Linked DNA regions of Homo sapiens: all the other regions are linked to region 1. Evidence: promoter capture Hi-C in 16 types of primary human blood cells and fetal thymus (Javierre and others, 2016). All regions are on one chromosome and are shown on one strand. Each heading gives the region's core, a stretch centred on a gene start or on the middle of the fragment in contact. The rest is flanking DNA. Distances are from core to core; before and after follow the strand shown.

Region 1 (3,447 bases), core at 244-2,743:
TCAGCTCCTCTAATAACGGAGTTGCTATTCACTTCTAAGGCAAAGGGGGAAAGGGGATTCAGTTTTGGACACGTTAAGATGAAGATGACTCTTAGTCATCCAAGTCGTGATTTCAAGTAACTGCTGGATGCACAAATCTGGAAATAGGGAGACAGATCTGGACTGAAGATATTTATATTTATATTTCAGAATCTCCAGTTTATAGAAAGTATGTAAAGCCCTGAGGCTGAATGAATGAGACCACCTAAAGCTAGGGAGAGTCTATAGAAAAGGTCCTATAACTGATTCCCAAGGCACATCCTAACATTTAAAAGTCAGGAAGATAAGGAACCAGCAAAGGAAACCAAGAAGTAACACCCAGTGAAGACAGGGAAAGACAAGAAAATGTTATCCATAGGCCAAGTAAAGGGCTGAAATTAATGCCAGATCTTGCTATCTGACCTGCCACTGATTGAAGTTTTAAATCAGAAATTGGTGAATACAGATAACCTTCAGAAAACTGGCACTCTCTTGACAGAAATGTTACTCTGGACTGTTTCCTTCATGCTTAAGAAAATAACAAGGCCTTCCATTTCTGGACAAATGTACTCTTTGCCCATTCCTTCGTACATTCTATTACTACGTGGGGGACACTAAATTAGGTCTAGAGGGAAATGCAGAACAATACACTCGTTCTTTGTATCTCTGACTTTAAATCACTCCTATAGGAAAACCAAAACAAAAAAACTCCATAAACGTGAAAGGAACTCAGCTATAAGTTGGTGAAGTTGACACCTACAGGCCACCCACGTGGGTGACAGAGGGAGGTCAGAGGGCAATGCTCCAGGCGGACCTAATCGCCAGCGTCCAACAGATTGACAACTACCAACGACTAATCTCACTGCTTCCTTCACTGAGTGCGAAGAGCGGGAAGCACAATCTCACTATACCAGTGAAGTCAACCCCTCCCCACCAGGCCAGCCCACAACTCCAGCTATCCAGCACCCCGCTCCAGATCCCAGAGCCTCCCCGGGCCCAAAGGACCCCGCCCTAAACCGCCGGCGCCGGACCCACTACAAATCCCAGCAGGCACCGCGCGCCCGCAACATGCCAGCCTACGCTTAGCCGCCGCTGGGCCTCCTGGGGCCTGTAGTCTCCACGCCCCCCGTCTCCGGTAAGTACCTGAAAGCGATAAAGGAAGGCTTCGGGCCAGAGGAAGAGGTAGGCCGGGCTGATGAGGCCGAGTTTGCCGACCAAGGGCACGGCGACGGTGGCGGCGAACCAATAGCGCGTGATCGCCGGGATGCTCCTGAACCAGTCTCCGATGTCCGACATCTTCGACCCACAGGTAGCCAAGATGCACAAGACCGCCCGACTCCCCGTGCCGACCCCCTCACGACGCGGCCGGCTCCGCGACTGTTAGGTGTCTAGGTGGAAGCCGCCGAAGCCGCGATGCAGAAGGCGGAGACGGGCGGACGTGGCGCCACCGAATTCGGACCAGCGAGGCAGCCTTCTGAGGCGAAACTTCCCCTTCCGGCGACCGCGGACGACGTGACCAGAAGTCCCGCCGCTTAAAGGGTAAGCGCCGATTTTACCGCCCGGCCGAGGCTCGGCGTCCTGGGGGGCGGAGCCAGGTAGAGCGACTACACGACTGGTGGGAAAACAGTGGTTGCCTGGATCAACGGCAAACGCTCCGGCCAGTGGCGAGGCCAAATGCCATTCACCTAGTTCTCAGAGTTTTAATGCGGCTGGGTCCACCTGGAGGGTATTTAAAGGGGACGAAGGCAAACGAAGTGTCTAGTTCCTCGTCTGCTTACTCATTCCACAAGTGTTTGTTGGGCACAGTTCTAGACACTGGGCAGCTGCGGCTGTCAGCGCTGTCGTGGTACCCTCTCTCCTGATCTTAACATCCTCATTGGGATAATTTATAAACAAATAGATAATGAAGTAAGATAATCTCAGAGAGTGATTAGAAAAATAGGAAAATGAAATGAGATGATGAGGTGGAGTGACGGGGTGGGGGTGCGGCAGTGTGAGGACAGATGGCTACCTTAGGTATGAACTGGGCCAGCCAGGCAAGAGATCTGGGGGAAGAATTTTCCATGCACAGAGAAAAGCCGCTCTAACTAGGTTGGAATGTTGGAGGAACTAAAAGCCAAAATGATCCATCTTGTCTAATTCAACTTGTATAAGAAGGAATCTTTAAGAAAAGATACTGGCCAGGCGCGGTGGCTCACGCCTGTAATCCCAGCACTTTGGGAGGCCGAGGCGGGCGGATCACGAGGTCAGGAGTTCGAGACCAGCCTGGCCAACATGATGAAACCCCGTCTCTACTAAAAATACAAAAATTAGCCGGGCATGGTGGAGGGCGCCTGTAGTCCCAGCTACTTGGGAGGCTGAGGCAGGAGAATCGCTTGAACCCGGGAGGTGGAGGTTACAGCGAGCCGAGATTGCACCATTGCACTCCAGCCTGGGGGACAAGAGCCAGACTCCATCTCAAAAAAAAGAAAAAAAGAAAAGATACTGAGTAGAGTTTCCCGTTGTTTTGGGATTTGGGGCCAGCAGTTTAAGATTGCTAAAGTCTTCCAATAAAGAGCACCAGGAACAAACCTGTAGTCAACAAAGTTAGATTTATTAACTTGCTGCAGCAAGGGAGACTGCACTCCAGAGGAACCTCAATGCCTCTCATCAAACGGAAGTGTCATTATTGGGTTATGGGAATGGGGGGATTTTTTGGTAAGAATTAACTGGAGCAGTGTTTGATAGACTCGAAGCAAAGCAGAGCTGTGTGCAGCATCAGGTTAACATCAGACCTGAGTAGGAAGCAGGCTCTTTCCTTGGAAATCTCAAAATTACGACAAATGTGAAACGTTGGGTCTGAAAACTCTATCTAAAGCTTTGTACCTGTATTGAAAATCCTGTGTCAAAGTGACCTGTATGGCTCAGATGCTCTGGACAAGAATGGGATGTTCCATTCACACGGAAAGGATGTCAGACAGCAGAGTTTCCAACATTCCATAATTTTAGAGAATATTTGTCAGCACCATATCCTTGATGTTAATTAATAAAAACAGTTTTTTCATAACAAAAAGGCATTAAATATTCCACAGTGTAATGAGAGTATACAACATTTGGGAACCAATGGATAGCAAATCTACGAAGAACACAGCTGGTGGGAATATAAATTGATACAGCCTTACAAAAAGATAATTTTGATATAAAAGCTAGATATTTATATAAATAACAGATAATACTTGACGATATTGCCTGAGGTTTATTCTGTTTATTTCCCTCTACTACCACCACCATTGTTTTGTACCCACTACTCATAACCAAGGTACAGTGAAAGAAAACAGGGGTTATCTGGCTTAGGTGGAGGGCTAAGGAAAGTTTCTCTGATAAACTTAAAAGTACACGTGCATGAGAAAAGACAAGAACAAGAAAAATGTACACCCAATATCTGGCAGT
Region 2 (3,447 bases), core at 429-2,928, 380 kb before region 1:
CACCTCCTGCTGGGCAACCCAGTTCCTAACAGGCCATAGACTGGTACGGGTCCAAGGCCCAGGGGTTGGCAACCCCTATTCTATGGCAATTCCAGGCTATTCACAGCAAAGAACAACACACCATGCAAAAAAAGTCCCTCACATGCTAGTAAAGATGGAGCCTATAACCATGGACATCAAATGATCATGCAGCCATTATGAGCTGGGTTCCCATCGTGAGCTGGATTCCCATTATGAGCTGGATTCCCATCATGAGCTGGGTTCTACCACACCCAAGAAGTCATAAGCCAAGGCAACCCTGCAGCAATCCACTGCCACATGGAGGCAGCACATCCATAATCAGGCACTGACAGGGTCAGAGGGCATAAATAAGCCACACAAGCAGGTGGCCCAGTCCTCAGCTACACAAAGGTGCATTAATAAATGGACTATAGCTGTGGGCAACTGGGGCTCAAGCTTCCTGGGTATCCCCCAAAAGCCTCTATAGAATACACCTCAGAAAGTTTTCATCAGGGGTAAAGAAACTGGGGTATTTATCCACCAATTGCCTGCTTTCTTTGTTTGAAGATTTCTCCCAGGAGTTAACTCCCTGGCACTTCAGATCTCTTCCCCAATCCCAATACATGGGCTGAGCATGATGTTTCCACCAGAGAACACTCTCAGGCAGCGAGACAAAGATGCCTGAGTTAGAATTCCCTTGGCCTGGATGAAAACTGTCCACCAAAGCTTCTGGTGACCTCCTTGGTGGATGAATGCTGATAACCAAAAAAAAAAAAAAAAAAAAAAAAAAAAACCTCTGTAAAATATTGAAGGAGGTTTATTCTGACCATGGCCTGGGAAACAGTCTCAAGAAAGCTTGAGAAAGTGTACCCAAGGTGACTGAATTACAGTTTAGTTTTATACATTTTAGGAAAACAGAAGTTACAGGCAAAGACATAAATCAATACATGTAAGGTATACATTGATTTAGGCTGGAAAGGCAGAACATCTCAAAGACGGGGCTTTCAGGTCATAAGTGGGAGATAGATAGATGATAGATAGATATCTCCCATATAATATACATATATCTCTCTCTGCTGTTTTTTTTCATATGGATATATGTGAAGAGAGGGAAAGATTTTTAAATCAAGTAGCAATAGGATATTACAGTCCATAAAAGGTAAAATTTGCCAGTGTATACACTCTCAAAATTTTGTCAAGATCGCCTCCTCACAAATATTAAAGGGGCACTTAACAAATATCAGTAGGGCAGCATTTCTTCTTATTTACCCAACATAAATAGCACTTGCTCTTGCTACTGAGCAATCAGCTTGTTAAAAGATTGTATCATAGCAACATTCAGCCAGAGAACTTTCCAGAGCGTTGAGACATCCTTCTGGGTGGCTACAGTTGTCCTAGCAGCAAGATGGAACAGAATAAAAACTCCCAGCTGAGTGATTAGTGTACTGGGCCTTAGAGACCCAAATCTGCCACAAACTGGATGCATGACCAAGTAGTTTGGACTATATCCATTCCTTCATTTATTTAACAGATATTTACTGAGCATCTCCTAGGTGTCCAGGCTCAGAGCCACTGTGCAGGGGACAATCTCCAAAGTCTTTTTCAAGTCTAACTGGAGACTCAGAAAGGCACATTTGTAGAGATATGGAAACATTTATCAAAATCAGCATCTCCCAACATAGCCAAACCCTTGATCCTCTTGTAAATGACCCCCTTGCACATCATCCTTCTTTGTAAAAAGATAGCAGTTGTTCTGAGTCCTCTTCTTGCCCACGGAGAAGAGTTCACAACGGAAATGGGAAAGGATGGAAGTGCGTTTGTCTGGGGCCGCTGAGTCAGCCAGACTCCTCCCAGCTCCTAGTCCAGTCTCTCCTCTCTTCTCCAGAGAGGCACGCCCTCTCTGCCACTTTGTGGGCTGTGGAAGCTGATTAGCATTTTGCACACTTCAGCAAACTGAGCTTTGGAATTTCACTTGTCCCCTCAGCAAAATATCAGGTGGAAGAGGAACAGATTTGAATGCAAAGGACAATTGCATAATTTGCGTAAGTCCCAGGACAGAAACGCCACATGACTCTGCTAGTTTGCTTCTTCTCTTTTGCCCTTTTCCCCAGCAAGCCTAGAAAAATAATCCCACAGCCTAGCAACTAATCCCACACGTGACCTTTTGGCAACTGAGGATGCTTTCTTCACATGCTGGAAAACTGCGACATAGCTCCAAATTAAAATGCCTTTTGCCTCTCATTACCATATTAAAGAGTTTGAGGTTGTGAGATGACAGTGCACTTAAATTGTCCAGGAAAAAGAAAAGGTCATTCTTTTATATTCTGTACCTGACCTACGCTTCTTCATGAGCTTCATTTCACAGAGGAGCAAGGGAAAATAATAAACTCACCAACTGAAGGCCTCTCAACCTCTTCCAGTTTAAAACAGCCTCTTTCAAGCTGAGTCGCTGAGAAGCAAACGCTCAGTTTTTCAGGGTTTTTTCATGCCTGGGTGCAAAAGAAAGCTTTTATCTTGCAGTAGCTAGAGACGAGACCTCATATGTAAGACCTCCTTCATGGAAGGCAAATCTTCCCTAGGAGGCAGCTGAGCTGGGCGGGTCTCCGGGACCCAGCACAGGTATCTTCTCTGGCACAATGAGTGCCTCCCCACCCTTTGGGGCAATAAGCTGGCACCTGCTGCTGAAAAGTGTGGTTCTTGCCCTTTCCTCCAGCTGAGATGTCTCTGTACAATCAGTACTAAGCCAGGCCTCTGCTGACCCAGCAGTTATTTCAGGCCCCACATCTTCTCTGCTGGATTCTTTTCCCACGGCTGTCATAACAAATTACCACAAACTACATGGCTGAAAACAGCAGAAATGTATTCTTTCACAGTTCTGGAGGCTAGAAGTCCAAAATCAAGGTGTTGCTAGTACCACTGTTCCTCCAAAGGCCCTGGAGAAGAATCCTTCCTGGTCACTTCCATCTTTGGATAGCTCCTGGCCTTCCCCGGCTGTGGCAGCACCACTCCAATGTCTGCCTCCATCTCCACATGGCCTTCTTCCCTGTGTCTCTGTGCCTCAAATCTCCCTCTGTCTCTCTCTCTTTTTTTTTTTTTTTCATAAAGACACTACTGCTTGGATACAGGAACCACCCTACATTCAGAATGATTTGTCTCTGTGCCTCAAATCTCCCCCTCTTTTTTTTTTTCATAAAGACATTACTCATTTGATACAGGACCCACCCTAAATTCAGAATGATTTTATTTCAAGATCCTTAATTACATCTGTAAAGACTTATTTCCAAATAAGGTCACATTCACAGTTACAAAAGATTAGGACTTGGACATATCTTGTGGAGGGCCACGAGTCAACCCAGTACACCCTCCAAGGGCCATCTGGGAACTACTAATTCCATTACCCCTCTTACCCGAAGTTTGCAGGCTGCAGAGAATCAGGAGTGCTGGTTC
Region 3 (3,447 bases), core at 664-3,163, 360 kb before region 1:
GCTTGGCACAGTGGTGCACACCTGTAATTCCAGCTACTCGGGAGGCTGAGGCACGAGGATCATTTGAACCTGGGAGGCAGAGGTTGCAGTGAGCCAAGATCATGCCACTGAACTCCAGCCTATGTGACAGAGCGAGACTCTGTCTCAGAAAAAAAACAAAAACAAAAAACAAAACAAAACAAAACAAAAAAAGCCAATCTCAGGTATTTTATAGTGGTGTAAGAACAGCCTAACACACCTGATTCAGTCATGTTCTGCCAGAGCTCCCTCTGCACCTTCTAGAGCCTGTGTTTGACCCTCAAAAAGTAACCGGTGTAACTGAGGAACTGCCTTTTTAAAATTTTGCTTTAATTAAGGTAAATGTAAGTTTTTAAATAGACAATTCAGTTATTGAAAAAACTTTATGTTTAGAACAATGCGGAGAGATGACTCTACTGTTTCAATTGTAAATTTTATGAAATTGAAATACAGATCAAATATTTTCTATGAAAATTTAGAGTTCAGATTGAGATGTGCCATAAGTATAAAATACATACCAGATTTTGAACACTCAATATCAAAAAATGCAAAGTATCTCATTCATAATTATTTATATTGATTACATGCAGAAATGACGTTTTAGATATCTTAGCTTAAATAGAATATATTATTAAACTCAATTTCACCAGTGTCTTTTTTCTTTGTTTAATGTGGCTACTAGAAAATGTTTAATTAATGTATAGTTTACATTACATTTCTATTGGACGGCACTGTTCTAGGCCATTTCCCAGTTGTCCTTTGCATTGGGAAATGGGCCAGAAATTTTGCTGCTTCTGGCAGGCTGCCCTCCTAGAATGAACAGGATGGTATCCTCAACAGAAACTGCTCAGCTTTCTGAGGCTCGGGAGATGAAAGGAGAGAGAAAGGAGGCGCATTGGCAGGAAGAGCTGGGCCTGACTTCCTTGGAAAAGCCAGCCCTGGTGCCAGTCAGTGCCCCACCCACCCTGGGATCCCTGTGGGCCCACAATGGGCCCTCTCTTGGTAATCCAGGGATGATAAACACATGGTGCAGGCTCTCCAGGGACACATGGCTCACAGAGGGATACATGCAGAGGCAGGATGTGCAGAAGCAGCTATTATAATTCACCAGAGAAGGCCGGGAGTTCTCCAAAGTTGAGGTGGCACTGAACAAGATTGGCAGGGATTCAGACCTCTCTCCAGCTGGCCTCTGTAGTGGCTCTGCAGAGTCTAGTGGTGACTGAATCTACTGCTAAGCCAGATGCATAAACCTGGGCATCAGAACCCCTCTCTGAGCCTTGGTTTCCACCCATAAAATGAGAGGGTTTACAGCCTCTATTTTAAAATGCGGTAACTCAACACAACTGCCTTTTTCTCTACGTAGCATTGGCAGAGTCATGGGGCTCCAATCAGGCCCAAGGCCAGGCCTTTATTTTTCTCCTAGAGAGCTCACTCAGAAGTTCATTTCCATGCCCCGTGCCCAAGGCCAGGTCTCCTTGAAATGCAGCCAAAAGCTCATTAAATGTACACAGAAGGGAGAGCCACTGGGACGTGAGGGCCTGCTCTGCTCAGCATGACCAGCGCCGGGTGTGTAGCTTTCTGTGACCCATCTCCTCCGGCTGCATTTTCCCCACCTCTGGGGAGCACCTCTGTTCCAGAAGGCTCTGAGTTGGAAACACACAGGATGAATTTGGGCACATGTCCTCAGTCACAAATGCCAACAGAATTGGAATATCCAGCAAAGTGCTTTCCAGCCTCCTGGTGCCCAGAGACCTGGGAAGCCAGAGAGTGGAGAGTCCAGGGTAGGAGGTAGAAAGAGCTGTGCAGTGGAAACCCAGAAACCCAGCTCCAACCCTGACTCAGCCAACCGCTAACTCAGTGCCGTGGACAAAAGAATAATATCAACGTGCTCATGTGCATGTGTGTGCATGTGTGTGCGTGTGTGTGCATGTGTGTGCGTGTGGGCATGTGTGCATATGCATGTGTGTGTGTTTGCATGTGTGTGTGCATGTGCGTGTTTGTGTGTGTGTGCGTGTATGTGTGTGTCCCCATGTGCCGGGCCCAGAAAGGAAATATCACTGTGAGTAAAGAAAGAAGCCCTTGTCCTTCTGAGGCTTCCACTCAATTATAAGACAAGATGCACAAAAGTAGTGTAGATAAAGTGCAATGGCAAAAAGTAGATGACAACTTTACCTCCAACTACAGGGACTGGGACTGATTTCCTGGCAAGGAGGCATTTGGGAGAACAAACAAGTGCGAAGTGCCCAGGAGGAGAGGCCAAGGAGGTTTAAAGGCGTGTTCTCAGAACACCAAGTTTAGTTGACGTCTACCTCCTCTCAGCAACTTTCTACAACAGTGAGTTGACTCCTCCCTATTCTCTGAGACATAAAGCTCATTCCAAACGGTTCAAGGCTTGACTGTTCATACTTATTGTTGTTGCATTTATATTACCATCAAGAGCATTTGTGATGATCTGCTACCAGGGTGCTTAGTGCGTGTCTTGTCTCTCTAATAGCACAGTCAGGGAATAGGTCCAATGCTTTCTCTTATTCCCTGCCAGCCTGCCGTGCAATCTCTGGGTTGGAAGGAACCCTGGAAATCATGCTATCCAGTTCCCCATCTTCTCTTTCCCGGAGGCCTCTGCAAGACTGACAGGCATACCGTCTGCCTCTTTATTCTGTGTTTGTGCAAAACAGTGTGTTAAAACAGGTTCTGTTTTAGTATCAGCCGAGGCTCCAAGACACCAAGAGTGACTGCACCCCATTTCTAAGGAAAAGTGAAAGACCACAAAGACTTACACAGGAGGTAGTCAGAAACGGGTTTTAGGGCCCCAATCTATCCACCACCCGAACTTTAAAGAATTTGGAGGCCGGGCGCGGTGGCTCACACCTGTAATCCCAGCACTTTGGGAGGCCCAGGCGGGTGGATCACAAGGTCAGGAGATCGAGACCATCCTGGCTAACACAGTGAAACCCTGTCTCTACTAAAAAAAAAATTACAAAAAAATTAGCCGGGCGTGGTGGCGGGTGTCTGTCGTCCCAGCTACTCGGGAGGCTGAGGCAGGAGAATGGCGTGAACCCGGGAGGCGGAGCTTGCAGGGAGCCGAGATCGCACCACTGCACTCCAGACCCGGTGACAGAGCGACACTCCTTCTGAAAAAAAAAAAAAAAAAAAAAAGAATTTGGAGCTGGGCTGGGATTAGACAAGAATTTGGGGAGATAGCTGCCAATCCTTACACTCCCCACCCTTCTGGGGAGAGGCTGTTTCTAACCACCTCAAGCCTAGGTGAAGGGGCTTCCATGAGACCTCCTGGAAGGCTTGCAGCATGTTCCCTGGATCACGGGAGACTCCATCGATTGATGTCTGGCTCACCCTGAGAAATTTAAAGGGCGAGAGATGGCGGCAGGCCAGTTGCGCCGAAGGTGGAGTGAGACGAGGTGATCGCGTTGA
Region 4 (3,447 bases), core at 389-2,888, 340 kb before region 1:
GATCATGCCACTGCACTCCAGACTGGGCAACAGAGAAAGACCCTGTCTCAAAAATAAATAGATAAACGAGACAAGCCTGGCCAACATGGTGAAACCCCGTCTCTACTAAAAACACAAAAATTAGCTGGGTGTGGTGGTGCACGCCTATAATCTCAGCTACTCTGGAAGCTGAGGCAGAAGAATCGCTTGAACCGGGGAGTTGAAGGTTGCAGTGAGCCAGAATCGTGCCTGGGCAACAAGAGCGAAATTTTGTCTCCAAAAAATAAATAAATAAATAAAGTATAGTATAGTATAGTATGGTATGGTATAGCATAGCATAGCATAGCATAGCATAGCATAGCATAGCATAGCATAGCATAATACTGGACAATAGAAACTTTTCTGCTCCATTATAATCTTATGAGACCACCGTCGAGATAGGCAATCCATTGTTAACTGAAATGTCATTATGCAGCACATGACTGTATTGTGCTACAATTGCTCTGTCATTCTCTCATATATTTATAGATGTTTTTTCTAATTCATTTGAAAGTCAGCTGCAAAATCCAGCCATGTTTCCCCCAACATTTCACCGTGCATCTTGAATGAATATGGACATTCTCCTAAATAAGCACACCACCATCATACCTAAGAAAGCTAACATTTATTCGGTTAAATGGTGCCATTTAATATGTGACTTACCTGTAAATTTTACCAATTGTCCCCAATATACCTTTTAAAGCTCTTTTTATTAAGTCCAAGACTGTGTCTCTAAAACATAAAAATTAGTTTAAATTTCATGTTTGCCACCATCGTTTAAAGCCACTTACACTTAATATTTGTACAATTTTGACCCTTTTGAAACCCCATGGTTGCCCCTCTTATTTGATTCTATTGAAATTTGGTGAATAAGTTTGTTTACAGGCATCTTTTCTATGCCCTTCATGAATTCATAGCATGTACTTATTTCTTCTTAGAGCTTTGGTCTCTCCATGCTGGAGTCCACCTCCTTTGAGCTCATGCTCAAATGTAGGTTCCTCTTAATAATTTAGTTTGCCTCTTTCTACGTGTCCTTTATAGGTCCTTCCTTAAGCAGTGTAATGACTAAAATTGCATACATCCCTCCAAGTGCCAACCCACATAGGTTTTATACAAGATATACAGAGCCACGCTTTTAGGATTTAGGACCAACGAATGGCTCTTTTACATGTTAACAATTTAGGAGCTATAAATTTTCTTCCAGACTTTTTCCTTGCCTTAAACTTTTTTACCAGTTGAAAGCTGCATAAAATGAACATCAAGGGCAGAACATCAAAGGAACTAAGAGGCTATGTCCAAGAACACCAGACAACAGGGAGAAGTGTTTCCCAGGTGCCCACAGCAGGCTGCAAGAGAGACCATGGAGGGCTGTGGGTGGCAGATATTTACATAATGACATCGACATATTTTAGCTGCCAGCTGTGAGCTGTCTTCATTTCTTCTTTCACTTGCTCCTCAAAGTGTGAGGTCCAGAGTGACCCCGGTTTGTTGACACCCCCCAGGGACAACTCTGAAATGAACTGCAACTTCAGATTTTGTGTCTAATGTTTCTCTGAATAATGAGCAGGATTTTCTTGGCCTGATATGAAACACACTGGGCAAATATTTTTAGCAAGACATCTATAGTGAATATTATGTCTCTTTTTGGATTGGCAACTGAGAGCTAGCATTTCGTTGTTCGATTTACTTGGATTTGTCCCCTTTTCGTGTGTTTTTACACATTTGCCTTTCATGAACTTTCTCTCTCTGTGGTTTATTTACTCAGTTGTTCACTCGTTTGATGTCACTTCTCATGTGCTTATTATGGACAGCCCTTGGGTTATGCTTTGTGGACACATCACAAACATAACTATGACATAGTCCTGGCACTCAAAAAGAGACCTGCATTCTGTTTTTGAAAGAATGCCCAGGCTGAAGCGCAGTGGCATCGTCTTGGTTCACTGCAACATCCGCCTCCTGGATTCAAGCGATTCTTCTGCCTCAGCCTCCTGAGTAGCTGGGATCACAGGCACCCAGCACCATGCCTGGCTAATGTTTGTATTTTTAGTAGAGACAGGGTTTCACCATGTTGGCCAGTCTGGTCTCAAACTCCTGACCTCAGGCAATCCGCCTACCTCGGCTTCCCAAAATGCTGGGATTACAGGCGTGAGCCACCACGCCTGGCCTGAGGCTTGCATTCTTTAAGTGGGGCACATGACCCAGCACATCGCGTACTCGTGGCTACAGTGATTGGCTCACAGATTACACATGGCCAAAAACAGTCATGTCAGAGCCCAAGAAGACTCAAGTAAGCTCCATGATGACAGGAACCTCTTCTCTCTGTCCACTTCAGTATCCCGAGCATGTAGAAGAATGTCTGGTGCATACTAGGACCTCAATAAATATTTTTGCATTAATTAATTCCATGACTTTCGTTTATGTTATTGAGAAACAGGCTACCTCTTTCCTGCTGCACCAGAGAATTCACAAACTGAAGCTGCCATCTCGCTACCAAATGGAGTCTGAGACTGGAGTCAACAGATTGCAAAGCAAGCAGAAAGGAGAGACACGTGATTGCATCATGTGAGCCCTGAATCTTGCTATGCCTGCAGCCAGGGCTGCCTTGGTCTTGTTACATGAGCCGAGTTTGCAGTTTGCTTATGCCACATTTGATCAGGTTTGTTCCTGTTTGCTGACCAAGTCCTAACTAAAAACATTAAAAGAAGTATCCTGCCTACCCTTAAATCAAAGCATTTCAACCCCTTGACAAGGGAAACACATGGCCCAGACACAGACAATCAGAGTTTAATGGGGCTGATTTTCATGATGGTTTGCTCCTGATAGGAAGGAAGAGCAGGCTCAAATAGTGGGGCTGTCCTTAGCCCAGCCTCCAGGGCTGATGGGCTGGGATGAAGTCATGTGGACCAGTAGAAAGAAAGAAAATGTGAGGCCAAAAAATAGGATCTTTGGACTTAGTTTTCTATTTAAGAGCTCCATAGGCTTGAATAAGTCAGTTGACCTCTCTGGACTTCAGTTTCCTCCAGTACAAAATTAATAACTTGGCCTAAGTGATCAGTTCTACAATGGGTGTGACTGCCTATGTCTCTCTATTGGCATGGGGCTCACTGCTGCTGCAGCTGCTGCCATTATAGCTGCCCCTGTGATAACTGTGGTGGGTGCGGTCACAATCCTGGAGGCCAGAGATCCGAGTGTTGGCAGTGTTGGTTTCTCTGAGGCTTCCTTCCTCGGCTGGTAAGATGGCTGTCCTCTCCCTGTGTCTATCCCCGGACTGCTGCAGGGATAGAGAAGGCAGGGGTGATGATAAGGCTTGTGATGGTGGTGGTGGGTCCTGTGGTGCTGGTGAGGTTCCTAATGGGAAGAATTGGGGCAATAGGGGAAGGCTTATAAGAAAAGAATATTCAGACATGGACAGTAACAAAGGAAAGACCA
Region 5 (3,447 bases), core at 546-3,045, 340 kb after region 1:
TTTTATTCTTTTTAATGTCAACATCAAAAGATGACAGAAATTACATCCTTTGAAAGAAATAAATGAGGGGGAAGTTGAGATGATAACTTAAAACTGTATGAGAGAATAAAGAACTAAAAAACAATTTAGGAACTCTTAGGAGAAAACAGCATTGGATTTGGCAATGATTTCTTGGATGACACCAAAAGCACAGACAACAAAATAAAAATATGTAAGTTAGACCTCATCAAAATGAGTACCTTTTATGCATAAAGAACACTATCAACAGAGTGAAAAGGCAACCTACAGAATACGAAAAAAATCTGCAAATCATATACTGATAAGGTATATAAGGTTTTATATATACATACACACACACACATATATACACGCATACATATATATATCTCCAGAATATTTAAAGAACTCCTTTGCAAAACAAGCAAACCAATTAAAAAATAAGCAAAAGATGTGAATAGAGATTTCTCCAAAGATAGACAAATAGCCAATAAACACATGAAAAGATGCTCAACATCACTAGTCATTAGAGAAACGCAAATCAAAACCACAGAGATAACACTTCACACACATTAGGATGGCTACTCACAAAAAAAAAAAAAAAGGAGAAAATAGCAATTGTTGGTGAGGATGTAGAGAAACTGGAATCCTTGTGTGTTGCTGGTGGTAACATAAAATAGTAAGGCAATTCCTCAAAAAGTTAAACACAAAATTTCTATATGATCCAGCAATTCCACTTTTGGGTATACACTCAAAGAAGCGAATGCAGGGACTTGCACAAATATTTGTACTCATGTTCACAGCAGCATTATTCAATTCCCAAAAGGGGAAGCAACCCAAGTGTCCACTGACAGATGAACGGACAAACAAAACATGGTACATACAATGGAATATTATTCCTTCTTGTTTAAAAAAGGAAATTTTAACACATGCTACAATATGGATGAACTCTGAAGATATGCTAAGTGAAATAAGCAAGTCATAAAAGACAAATATGATTAGTCTAGGAATATGAGATTCAGAGAACAGTCACATTCAGAGACAGAAAGTAGAACAGTGGTTGCCAGGGACTAGGAGGAGAGAGGAACTGGGAGTAAGTGTTTAATGGGTACAGAGTTTCAATTCTGGAAGATGAAAAAGTTCTGGAGATGAATGGTGATGATGGTTGCAGAACAATGTGAATGTACTTAATGAACTGTAAGCTTAAAAACGGTTAAAACGGTCAATTTTATGTTATGTATATTTTGGTACATTAAAAAAGAAAATAAATGCTACCATATTCCTGAGGATAAAAAAAGATTTTGTTTCCTTACAAAACAAGAAAAGGGGTGGATGGGGACAATACTAGGAAAAAACATTTCCTAAGAAACTTGGAAGACAATCTTATAAGTGGTATAAGAGAATCTTTGATGTGCATAGTGAACGGCTTGTCATTCTCTCCAAATAAGTACTAGGCAGCAAGAAAGACTCAACAATGTGGGCAAAAAAAAAAAAAAATTATGTGGGAGTCCTCTATATAGAGTATACACTAAAAAATTTTTAAATGCATCTTTCAAAAACAGTTCTAACAAAAGCAATATAAAAATAAAGGCAATACATGCCCATTATTACTGGAAAAATGAAAATGTCACCCTTAATTTCAGCCACTCACAGACAACCTCTTTTAATCTCTTGGTGCAAAAACCATTTTTTTCCTATGCAAACATATTTACATGATTTTAAAACTGAGATAATACTATATGTTTTATAAGTTTTTTCTAGTAATATCAATATTTTTTCATGTCATTAAATATTACTCTAAAAATTTAATGAATGAATAGTATTTCAGCCATTACATGAATCTATTTAACAAATTGCTGAATGTATTATATTTAGGTTGCCTGCAATTTTTTCTGATGTTATAAATATCTCTAGATGAATTATCTTGTGTATATCTTCTTTCCTAAGGAAGACTAGCACAGGTATTAAACCGAAGTCATCTAATTCCCAAGAGGTAAGTTCAACACTGTTAACAGTAATTAACATTGGATGACAGAGATGGGGACTTTCACTTTCTATTTTTCACATTTTCACATGTATTACCAGAAAAAAATTCCTAAAAACTAAAAAACAAAGAGAAAACAAACTTAGTCTGAAATTTTAACCTAGAGATGTAATATTCTCATTTATTCTTTGGCTAAAATCTACTTAAATATTGAGAGCACTTATAGTTCTTTAAAAGTGAAGTTTTAAGAGAGGAAATGTTAGTATTTTGTTAAATTTTAAGTTTCTCACAACCTTGCAGAATCAGTAAGTTAACATAGAGAAAAAGCAGCAATAAAATAACAAAAAAGTTTTCCTAAAGTATACACAGTTGCATAATAAAAATATTCTATGTTATTTTTCACAGAAGACCAAGCTTATTCAAGCTTTAAATTCATTTTTTAAAAAGCATGTTTGGGGGGGAGGTCAGTTGTTTGAGTCAATTCAAATATCAACAAATGAGGTTGAAATAGGATGTACTCAACACAAATTTAGGGCTCCCTGAAAACTTAAACAACAGTATATTCTAATACATGATATACATGTTATATCACTATAGTTGTGATATCCTTCCTTAGTTTTGTCTTTAAACATGAGTTTAAACCACTTCACCATCTACTCGGTAAACTCCAACTTAGTTTCTACCTCCACAGCTCTTTCAGTACATTCACAACTGTCTCCCAATAGCTACATCCAATAGCCTTTTCTCTACCTCACTGAATTCTACAGAACTGATCACTACCTTCTTTATTTATTTTTAGAGATAGGATCTTGCTCCTTCACCCAGGCTGGAGTACAGTGGCACAATCATGGCTCACTGCAGCCTCAACTTCCTGAGCTCAAGAGATCCTCCTGCCTCAGCCTCCCCGGTAGTAGCTGGGGCTACAGGCATGTGCCACCACGCCTGGCTACTGATTATGTATTTTATCTTATTTTATTTTATTATTTTGAGACGGAGTCTTGCTCTGTCGCCCAGGCTGGGGTGCAGTGAGTGTAGCAGCACGATCTCAGCTCACTGCAACCTCTGCCTCCTGGGTTCAAGCGATTCTCTCTCTCAGCCTCCTGAGTAGCTGGGACTAGAGGCAGGCACCACCACACCTAGCTGGTTTTTGTAGAGACAGGGTTTCACCACATTGCCCAGGCTGGTCTTGAACTCCTCGGCTCAAGTTATCCACCTGCCTCGGCCTCCTAAACTGCTGGGATTACAGGTGTGAGCCACCATGCCCAGCCAATTTTTATTTTTTATTTTAGAGATGGTGGGGGCGGGGGGGTGGTCTCACTATGTTGCTCAGGCTGGTCTCGAACTTCTGGTTTCAGGTGATCCTCTCACCTTGGCCTCCCAAAGTGCTGGGATTAGAAGTGTGAGCCACTGTGCCTGGCCAGTACTTTCTTAAAATGCTTCGGTCCCTTGGTTTACTTAATACTCTT
Region 6 (3,447 bases), core at 564-3,063, 330 kb before region 1:
TGTCTTTATCAGCAGCATGTAAACAGACTAATACAGTTTCCTTACTCACTTGCCTGCTTCCTGGACCACTTAGCCATGTGGGCTGTAACAGCTGGGGATAGATGGGTCTCTCTTTCTCTCTCTCTGTCTCTCTCTCTCTGTGTCTCTGTGTGTGTGTCTGTGTGTGTGTGTGTGTGTGTGTGTCTTCCTCTCCCTCGGCAGCTAACTTGGGCTTCCTCACAGCATGGTGGTCTCAGGGTAGTTGAATTTATTACATAGCAGCTGACTCACCCCAGAGCTAAAGTTTCAAGAGGCCAGTGCAGAAGCTACAAAGCTTCTTATGCCTTAGCCTTGGAGGTCCCAGACCATCTCTTCAACCACATTCTGTTAGTCAAGCAAATCCCTAAGCAAGCCCAGATTTGAGGGAAAGGAAATTAGACTCCACTTCTGAATAGGAGGAAAATTTGTAATCACCTTAATGTACCACACCCAGGTGACCTGAATGTGCAGCCAGGCTTGAAAACCAGTTTTAGATCCACCATAACTTATTGTCCATCAAGACACCATTGATGGATACGCAGGCTGCTTCAGACTTTTTGCTATTGTAAGCAACACAGCACTCAACAAGTACTCCAGTCATCATTTCACACATGAGCAAGTAGGTCTGGAGGGCACATTGGGAGAAGTGAAACTGGTGGATTAAAGATTTGGTACTGGAAGTTTCTGAGCTGTAAAGTGGCACAATCAGGGCTGAACTTTAGGAATTCCAATCTGTCCGCACCACCCAGGGCTGAGCAGTGGGACGGGATGGCTGCTGGCAGAGAGACCAGGCTTCATGTTGTCAGACTAGTTGGGATAGAGATCATAAAGTGGAAGCACAGATAGGAAGGAACAGAGGGAAGGGATCGTCAAAATGCAGTCATCCTCTTTAGCAAGTGCTGGAAGACAGAAGTTAATTTGGTGATGAACTTGATGATACGGATGATATGTATCATGACCACACAGTGGTCATGACAGGTTTCTTGGAAGAAGTGAGACTGGAGATGGAGCATTCAGGATGAGGAGAATTTTAATAGCAAGAAAAAAGGAAGACAGCCTTTTCACTGGCATTTCATTTGGTGCTGTTGGAAGATATGGAGAAAGCTCTGTTTTGAGATAGATTATCCAACTCAAGCACATCAGGTTTAGCCAGTGCCTGTCACACAGCAAGTGCTCAAAAACAGGATGTACTATTCCTACTAACAGCAAGTAATTCCTATTAAAATTCCTTAATATATTAGAACATGACTTTTGGTGACAATTATGATTGCTCTCATTATTTCTAAACAGGTGCATGTGCCATGGGAAAAGCTTTGGCTGGGCCGTAGATTCATCACCCATCGGCCCAATCTGGAGCAGATGGTGGTTTCTCCTGCATAATGTCCTACAGCCACCATTGGTCTCTCTCCCTTACATGGGAACATTGGAGGGAATTGATGCTGTCTGGACAGAGACATCCCTAGAATTCCATTCTTGACCTACTATCACCCTTCCAGCCCTAGTACTTATCTCCATGTCACCCCAAAGCTGAGAACATGAGCTGCTTTTCTTTGGGGATGCATTAACAGAAGAGTCTTCAGAGCAAGTATCGAATGAGTCCTACTGTATTCTGGGCTGGAAAGACCTTAACTAATAAATAGTTTCCATTCTAGGTGATAAAAAATAACAACAACAAAACCTAATATCTGGATACTACATTATGATATAGCTAATCCTACTCAACCTTTGGGTGTCAGTTAAAAGTCACTTCTTCCAGGAAGTCCTCCCTGACAACCCTGAGACTGTTCACGTGCCCCAGTATGCACTTTCTTACACCCTGGAGCTCCCTTGCCATAGCAATTAACACACTGTTGTTATTCTTGCTTATGTGTCCACCTCTGCAGTGGAGAAACTCTAAGGTAACCCCCAGTAATTTTTGCCCCCTACTCTTCGTTCCTTGATATATTCCCCCCTGGAGGGTGGAGAGGACCTGTGTCTTGATTCTAACCAATAAGGTGATGGAATGTCATCCCCAGTATTATGATATGTTTGACTCCATTTCAGGAAACTGGAGCAAGAGACCCTCCTTGCTGGCTGATTGAAGTAAGTGGTCAGGTTGGAGAAGCCCATGTGGCAAGGAACTGCAGGAGGCCTCTTTGTTTCTGTGGGTGGTCTCCAGGACCTGAGGGTGGAATCCAGCCAACAGCTATCCAGAAGCTGGGACCTGCAGACATACTATGGTAGGAAAGTCAATTCTACTAACAGCCTAAATGAACATGGAAGCAGACTTTTTCCCCAGGCAAGCTTCTAGTTGAGAACTCAGCTCAGTGATACCCTGACTACAACCCTATAAGATCCTGAACAGAGAAGCCAGCTAAGCCAGACCCAGACTCCTGCCTCAGAGAAACTGTGAGACAATAGAGTATGTTGTTTTAAGCCTCTAAGTTTGTGGTCATTTGTGATGCAGCAATAGAAAACTAACACATTCCCCCACTAGATGCATGCTCTCTGAGGGTGAGACCACATCCATATTACCCCTCACTGTACTCCCAGCAGGTCACACCTTGCCTGGCACATAGTAGGTGCTCAAGAAATATTTTCTGGATGAATGATTGAATGAATGAAGCTGCATCAGTCTTACAATATTTACAATCACTCCATAAGGAGGATTATTTTAATTCAAGTTTTACTAAGACTGAGAAAAAATAAGTGACACATCCAAGAATATCCAAGATTTACATAGAAAGAGAAGAGGTGGGACCTAAACTAGCATCTCCTGGGACCAAATCCCAAGTTCATTCATTAAAATCACAGCTATAAGAACAGTGTTGGCTTTCCACCTTGACAGAGCTGATAGAAGCTTACACAAATAATTGTACCTCACTCATACCCAGAACAGACATCACTAATCAATCACAATACTCTTTTAGGTGAAGTTCATCTTCTAAACTAAACCTTCTCAACTCAGGATTTCAGTAGCCACAGCAGTTGACCACATCTGGCCAAGGAGAGGAAACCTACTCGTCATCCAAATGCTAACCTGCTAGTTAGTTAGAATCTATACCTCCATGTAACTGAATGTAGAATCCATTCCCAGCAATGTCTGGGAAAACTATGAAAGAAAGAAGAGTCTGAGCATAGAAAGGAGTAGGATTTGGGAGAAGAAGAGTCAAGAAAAGAGGTTGGGGTAGGGAAAAACAAAACAAGAAACAGTGTTTCTAGAACCTTCTCTTCAGAGGAAAGCCTCTCACCATTTTCAGGCAAGAAATTCCACTAATGATGCATGCTACAGCTGGATTCTCTTGTGGCTGAATTCCCTGAGTCAGCTGATGAATTCTTCCTTGTATAGTAATTGGCTACAGCAATTAGATTCCCTTTTTTATTATTCGTATTGCCGTGACATATTCCGACTTCTCTCTAAAAATCCAGCTGATGACCGCAACAAGAGTG
Region 7 (3,447 bases), core at 489-2,988, 300 kb before region 1:
GATGGTCTTTAAATCTCTCCATACCTTTCCGTCCTTGGGAAAGATTGGGCTGGGTCAAAAGCCAAAGCAGAATCAGGAATGAGCTTTGCTCCCAACATACACCACAATGCAGAGACTTCACAATCCAAACCTTATCTGCCTGGCCTCAGACAGCTCCAAAAGGATGGACGTGCCAAAAATCCCATAGCAGCTGGCATGAAGGCTCTGCAGCAGGGTCACAAGACAGAAACAAGTGGAGATTTAAAGGGAAGAAAGATCTTTATGGAACAGAACCTGACATTACACATCAAAAGCTTGAAGCAATATTTACGTGTGTGTGTAAGGCACGTGGGGTTTGTGTACAAGGATGCTTGGCTGAATCTAGAAAAGTTTTGAAGGGATACCCAACAGAATGTTACCAGTGCTCCAGGGATGGCTTGGAGAGGCAGAGAGAGTAAGGGGACTGTCACTATAGAAATCATGCATGCCTACTTTTTTTATACTTTTTTAAGTACAATTTTCTTATTTAAGAGTTTTTATTGTGTAACTTTTTATTCATCTATTTCAATGCAGGAATTTAAGTTGAAGAAAGAATTAAGCCCATGCACAAAGGCTGAGCTGACAGGGACTTGCATGAAAGCTTTGCTTTCTAACAATAAAACCTCAGTCCTGAACTCATCGTCCAGTAATAGGGTATAGTCATAATAGAGAATTCCACTCAGCTGTTAAATAACTTTCAAATGAATATTTATGGACCAAAAGAAAGGTGATAGTCATACATTATATAGAAATAAAGCAACTTTCACAAGTGAGTATAATCCAACACCATGTTTTAAATCTCCATCTACATGTAGAAATATACAGATATTATTCTTAACAATCTTGGCTGTATTATCATTGTTTATTTTACTCTAGCTTTGAATTTTCACATTTCTGCAATGAATAGAAATAAGGAGAAAGTTGATTTGACAGAGTGCCAAGAGGCGTGGCCAGGGCGCCCTCTGAAATCTCGTCAGGTGAGTGTGACACCCTGTGAATTCCTGCCACTACTCCATAAGGTAGTTTGGCTCCTGTTGTCTCTTGGGGCAATTCCTGCACAAGAAGTTTCAGCAGGAAACTGGAATGGAAAAAATGGAATATGTGGGGCCCACAAGCCCCTGCCTACCCTGCCAGTTGCCATGGAGGGAAATGATTGAGGAGGGAAAATTGTGAGAGGTCACACCTGGGCTGATTTGGAAAAGGCAGATTTTCACGTGGTTCTCGCCAATCTCCCATGTCTTCCACCTACACCTCTCAATCACCTAACAGAAGTGATTGTATGAGAATTTTCAGGGGTAGTGTTACAAATCACTCAGCCTGGTGCCAGGCACACTGGAGGGTGCAATGGGTGAATGGCCATATCAAAAGCTGGGGCTGGAAGGGGTGGTGGAATAAAAATGTTTGTGAGCATCTCCCATGAGCTACCTTTATGAGCCTTCACAACAAGAACCTGGCACATGCCTTGTGGTTACTCCCATTTTACAGATAAGAAAACTGAGGCTTAAAGAGAGTGAGGGATTGGCCCAACATCATTCAGGCAATTAGTGGCTGAGCCTAATCATGCAAACCCTAATCTCCCTGTCTTCAAACCCACTTCCTTCCCCTCCCAGGAGACTCTGCACTCGGGCTTTCTATACGGAGGAGGCACTGGGACCAGCAAAGACGTGAACCCACAACACACACAGCTTGTGGCAGTGCATAGACTTCAGCAAGGCCTCTTTAGCCCTGAAGCATGTGACACATGGGGAAACTTGAGGCCCACACCCCCTCAGAAAGAGTCCCTTTGGAAATTACATTTTTAGCCATGCGCTAACATGTACTTTAGCATGGAAGAAAAAGACTTTCTTCCATGCAAGACACATCCTGTTTATAATCCCATTTGTTCCAACAAGAATTCTGAAGAGAGGGTGGAACAGGGGCTTTGTCATTTTACAGAGAAGGAAATTGACTTGCTGTGTGACCCTGAGCTAGTCCACCTCCCCTTTCTGTATTTTTCCCCTTTCTGTATCTGAAAGGGGATTCATTTCATTCAATGAAATGAATTATTAAAATTAATTTCACCTGTTTATTTTTACTCATTTAATGTAGCTACTAGAACATTTAAAAGTATGTGTGTGTCCTTGTATTGTATTTCTATTGGACAGAGCTGTCTAGAATGCTGAAGCCTAGACGGATGTTTTCAGATACAGAAACCTGATTTTTCCCCTTTCTGTATCTCAGCATCCCTACCTATAAAACAAGGAGGTTGAACCATAGTTACCCCAAGTTCTTTTCCATTCATGAGCCCTTCAATTTGTCACCAGATAGTAAATGATGTTAAAATAAACACCTGATTTTTCACATCTTTGCCAATTTCTCTCCCTTCAGACAGAACTAATCCCATCTGCCTTGGTCTTCTCTTGGTACCCAGTTCCCACCTCTGCTCCTGAACTTACCACGTGCTCCTGCCACTGGCTCACATAGAAGCCGCTAGAAGAAAAAGGCCATGTCTTCCCCTCCAGAACTGCCCTGTCCAGTATGGACGCCACTGGTTTCTGTGACTGCCCAGCACTTAGAGTGTGGTGAGTCCAAATCGAGATGTGCTGGAAGCGTAAAATACACACTGGATTTCAAAGACTTAGGGAGAAAAAAAAAGAATGTAAAAACTCGTTAATTATGTTTACAGTGATTATACGTTGAAATGATAATATTTGGCTATGATGGATTCAATGAAATGGATTATTAAAATTAATTTCACCTGTTTATTTTTACTCATTTAATGTAGCTACTAGAACATTTAAAAGTATGTGTGTGTCCTTGTATTATATTTCTATTGGACAGAGGAGCTGTCTAGAATGCTGAAGCTTAGACGGATGTTTTCAGAGAGGTGATTTGTTAAATGTTTAAGAATGGATGAGCAGGCTCTCAAGTTCTTCCTTAGCAATTTGACTGTGGCCCTGAGTTTAAAATTATCACTATCACCATGTCTTTGTCATATTTACACCACTCTTAACATTTTGTATCAGGGAGACTAATTGCAAATTGCCATTAAAGTCAGCCAAGAAGAGAAAGACAAGCACTATGGTTAGTCCAACAAATAATTATTGAGCATATGCTATTGCCAGGCACCTCTAGAAACTTGGGATCAGGGAACAAAGTGAACATAGACCTTGTCCTTGAGGAAAGCAGGGCAGGGGTAAAAATGGCAAGTTAATGACATTGTATATTAGAAGGTGATAAATGCTAACGCAAAAGAGAGAACAAAATGAGGGTTAGGGAGGACCAGATTGCAATATTAAATGCGTCGTCTTGGTAGGTCTCGTTGAAAAGGGCAGATTTTAAGCAAAGATTTGAAGGAAGTAGGGAGTGTTCAAGTGACTCCCTGGAATAAATGCATTTTTAGGCAACAGGAATAGCTAAAGAGATGGGCCTCTGGCAAGCTGTGTAAGT

What was found. The method cuts DNA at HindIII sites, captures the fragments that hold promoters and counts their contacts. A CHiCAGO score of 5 or more calls a contact.
Region 2: a fragment that was not itself captured here is called in contact with the fragment with the promoter of DERL1 in region 1 in 4 of 17 cell types (M2 macrophages, M0 macrophages, M1 macrophages and 1 more); the score reaches 18.0 in M2 macrophages.
Region 3: a contact is called between a fragment that was not itself captured here and the fragment with the promoter of DERL1 in region 1, in 11 of 17 cell types (M0 macrophages, M2 macrophages, M1 macrophages and 8 more). The highest score is 15.3, in M0 macrophages.
Region 4: a fragment that was not itself captured here is called in contact with the fragment with the promoter of DERL1 in region 1 in 3 of 17 cell types (M1 macrophages, M0 macrophages and M2 macrophages); the score reaches 6.8 in M1 macrophages.
Region 5: a contact is called between a fragment that was not itself captured here and the fragment with the promoter of DERL1 in region 1, in 1 of 17 cell types (monocytes). The highest score is 5.5, in monocytes.
Region 6: a fragment that was not itself captured here is called in contact with the fragment with the promoter of DERL1 in region 1 in 10 of 17 cell types (M2 macrophages, total B cells, M0 macrophages and 7 more); the score reaches 12.9 in M2 macrophages.
Region 7: a fragment that was not itself captured here is called in contact with the fragment with the promoter of DERL1 in region 1 in 17 of 17 cell types (total B cells, M2 macrophages, naive B cells and 14 more); the score reaches 12.6 in total B cells.

Annotation. Positions count from the first base shown.
Region 1 is chr8:123,040,809-123,044,255 of GRCh38, forward strand. DERL1 (derlin 1) reads right to left here and starts at 1,494. Exons shown (of 8, transcript NM_024295.6): 1 at 1,162-1,494. The coding sequence starts at 1,314. RefSeq lists an enhancer at 904-1,443. The HindIII fragment of the contact is 6,787 bases long and covers 1-2,873 here.
Region 2 is chr8:122,657,391-122,660,837 of GRCh38, forward strand. No RefSeq gene overlaps it. Among named protein-coding and RNA genes, the nearest start is that of LINC01151, 35 kb to the right of the region's middle. The HindIII fragment of the contact is 1,651 bases long and covers 854-2,504 here.
Region 3 is chr8:122,679,879-122,683,325 of GRCh38, forward strand. The region is part of intron 2 of LINC01151 (long intergenic non-protein coding RNA 1151); the gene reads right to left. Among named protein-coding and RNA genes, the nearest start is that of LINC01151, 13 kb to the right of the region's middle. The HindIII fragment of the contact is 4,320 bases long and covers 1-3,447 here.
Region 4 is chr8:122,697,047-122,700,493 of GRCh38, forward strand. It overlaps LOC107986904 (a long non-coding RNA gene), which reads right to left. Exons shown (of 3, transcript XR_001745738.3): 3 at 2,787-3,366. Among named protein-coding and RNA genes, the nearest start is that of LINC01151, 4.7 kb to the left of the region's middle. The HindIII fragment of the contact is 5,531 bases long and covers 1-3,447 here.
Region 5 is chr8:123,385,435-123,388,881 of GRCh38, forward strand. All of the region lies in intron 1 of ATAD2 (ATPase family AAA domain containing 2), which reads right to left. Among named protein-coding and RNA genes, the nearest start is that of ATAD2, 9.3 kb to the right of the region's middle. The HindIII fragment of the contact is 1,196 bases long and covers 1,198-2,393 here.
Region 6 is chr8:122,713,711-122,717,157 of GRCh38, forward strand. All of the region lies in intron 1 of LOC107986904 (a long non-coding RNA gene), which reads right to left. Among named protein-coding and RNA genes, the nearest start is that of LINC01151, 21 kb to the left of the region's middle. The HindIII fragment of the contact is 972 bases long and covers 1,328-2,299 here.
Region 7 is chr8:122,736,522-122,739,968 of GRCh38, forward strand. No RefSeq gene overlaps it. Among named protein-coding and RNA genes, the nearest start is that of ZHX2-AS1, 43 kb to the right of the region's middle. The HindIII fragment of the contact is 2,242 bases long and covers 618-2,859 here.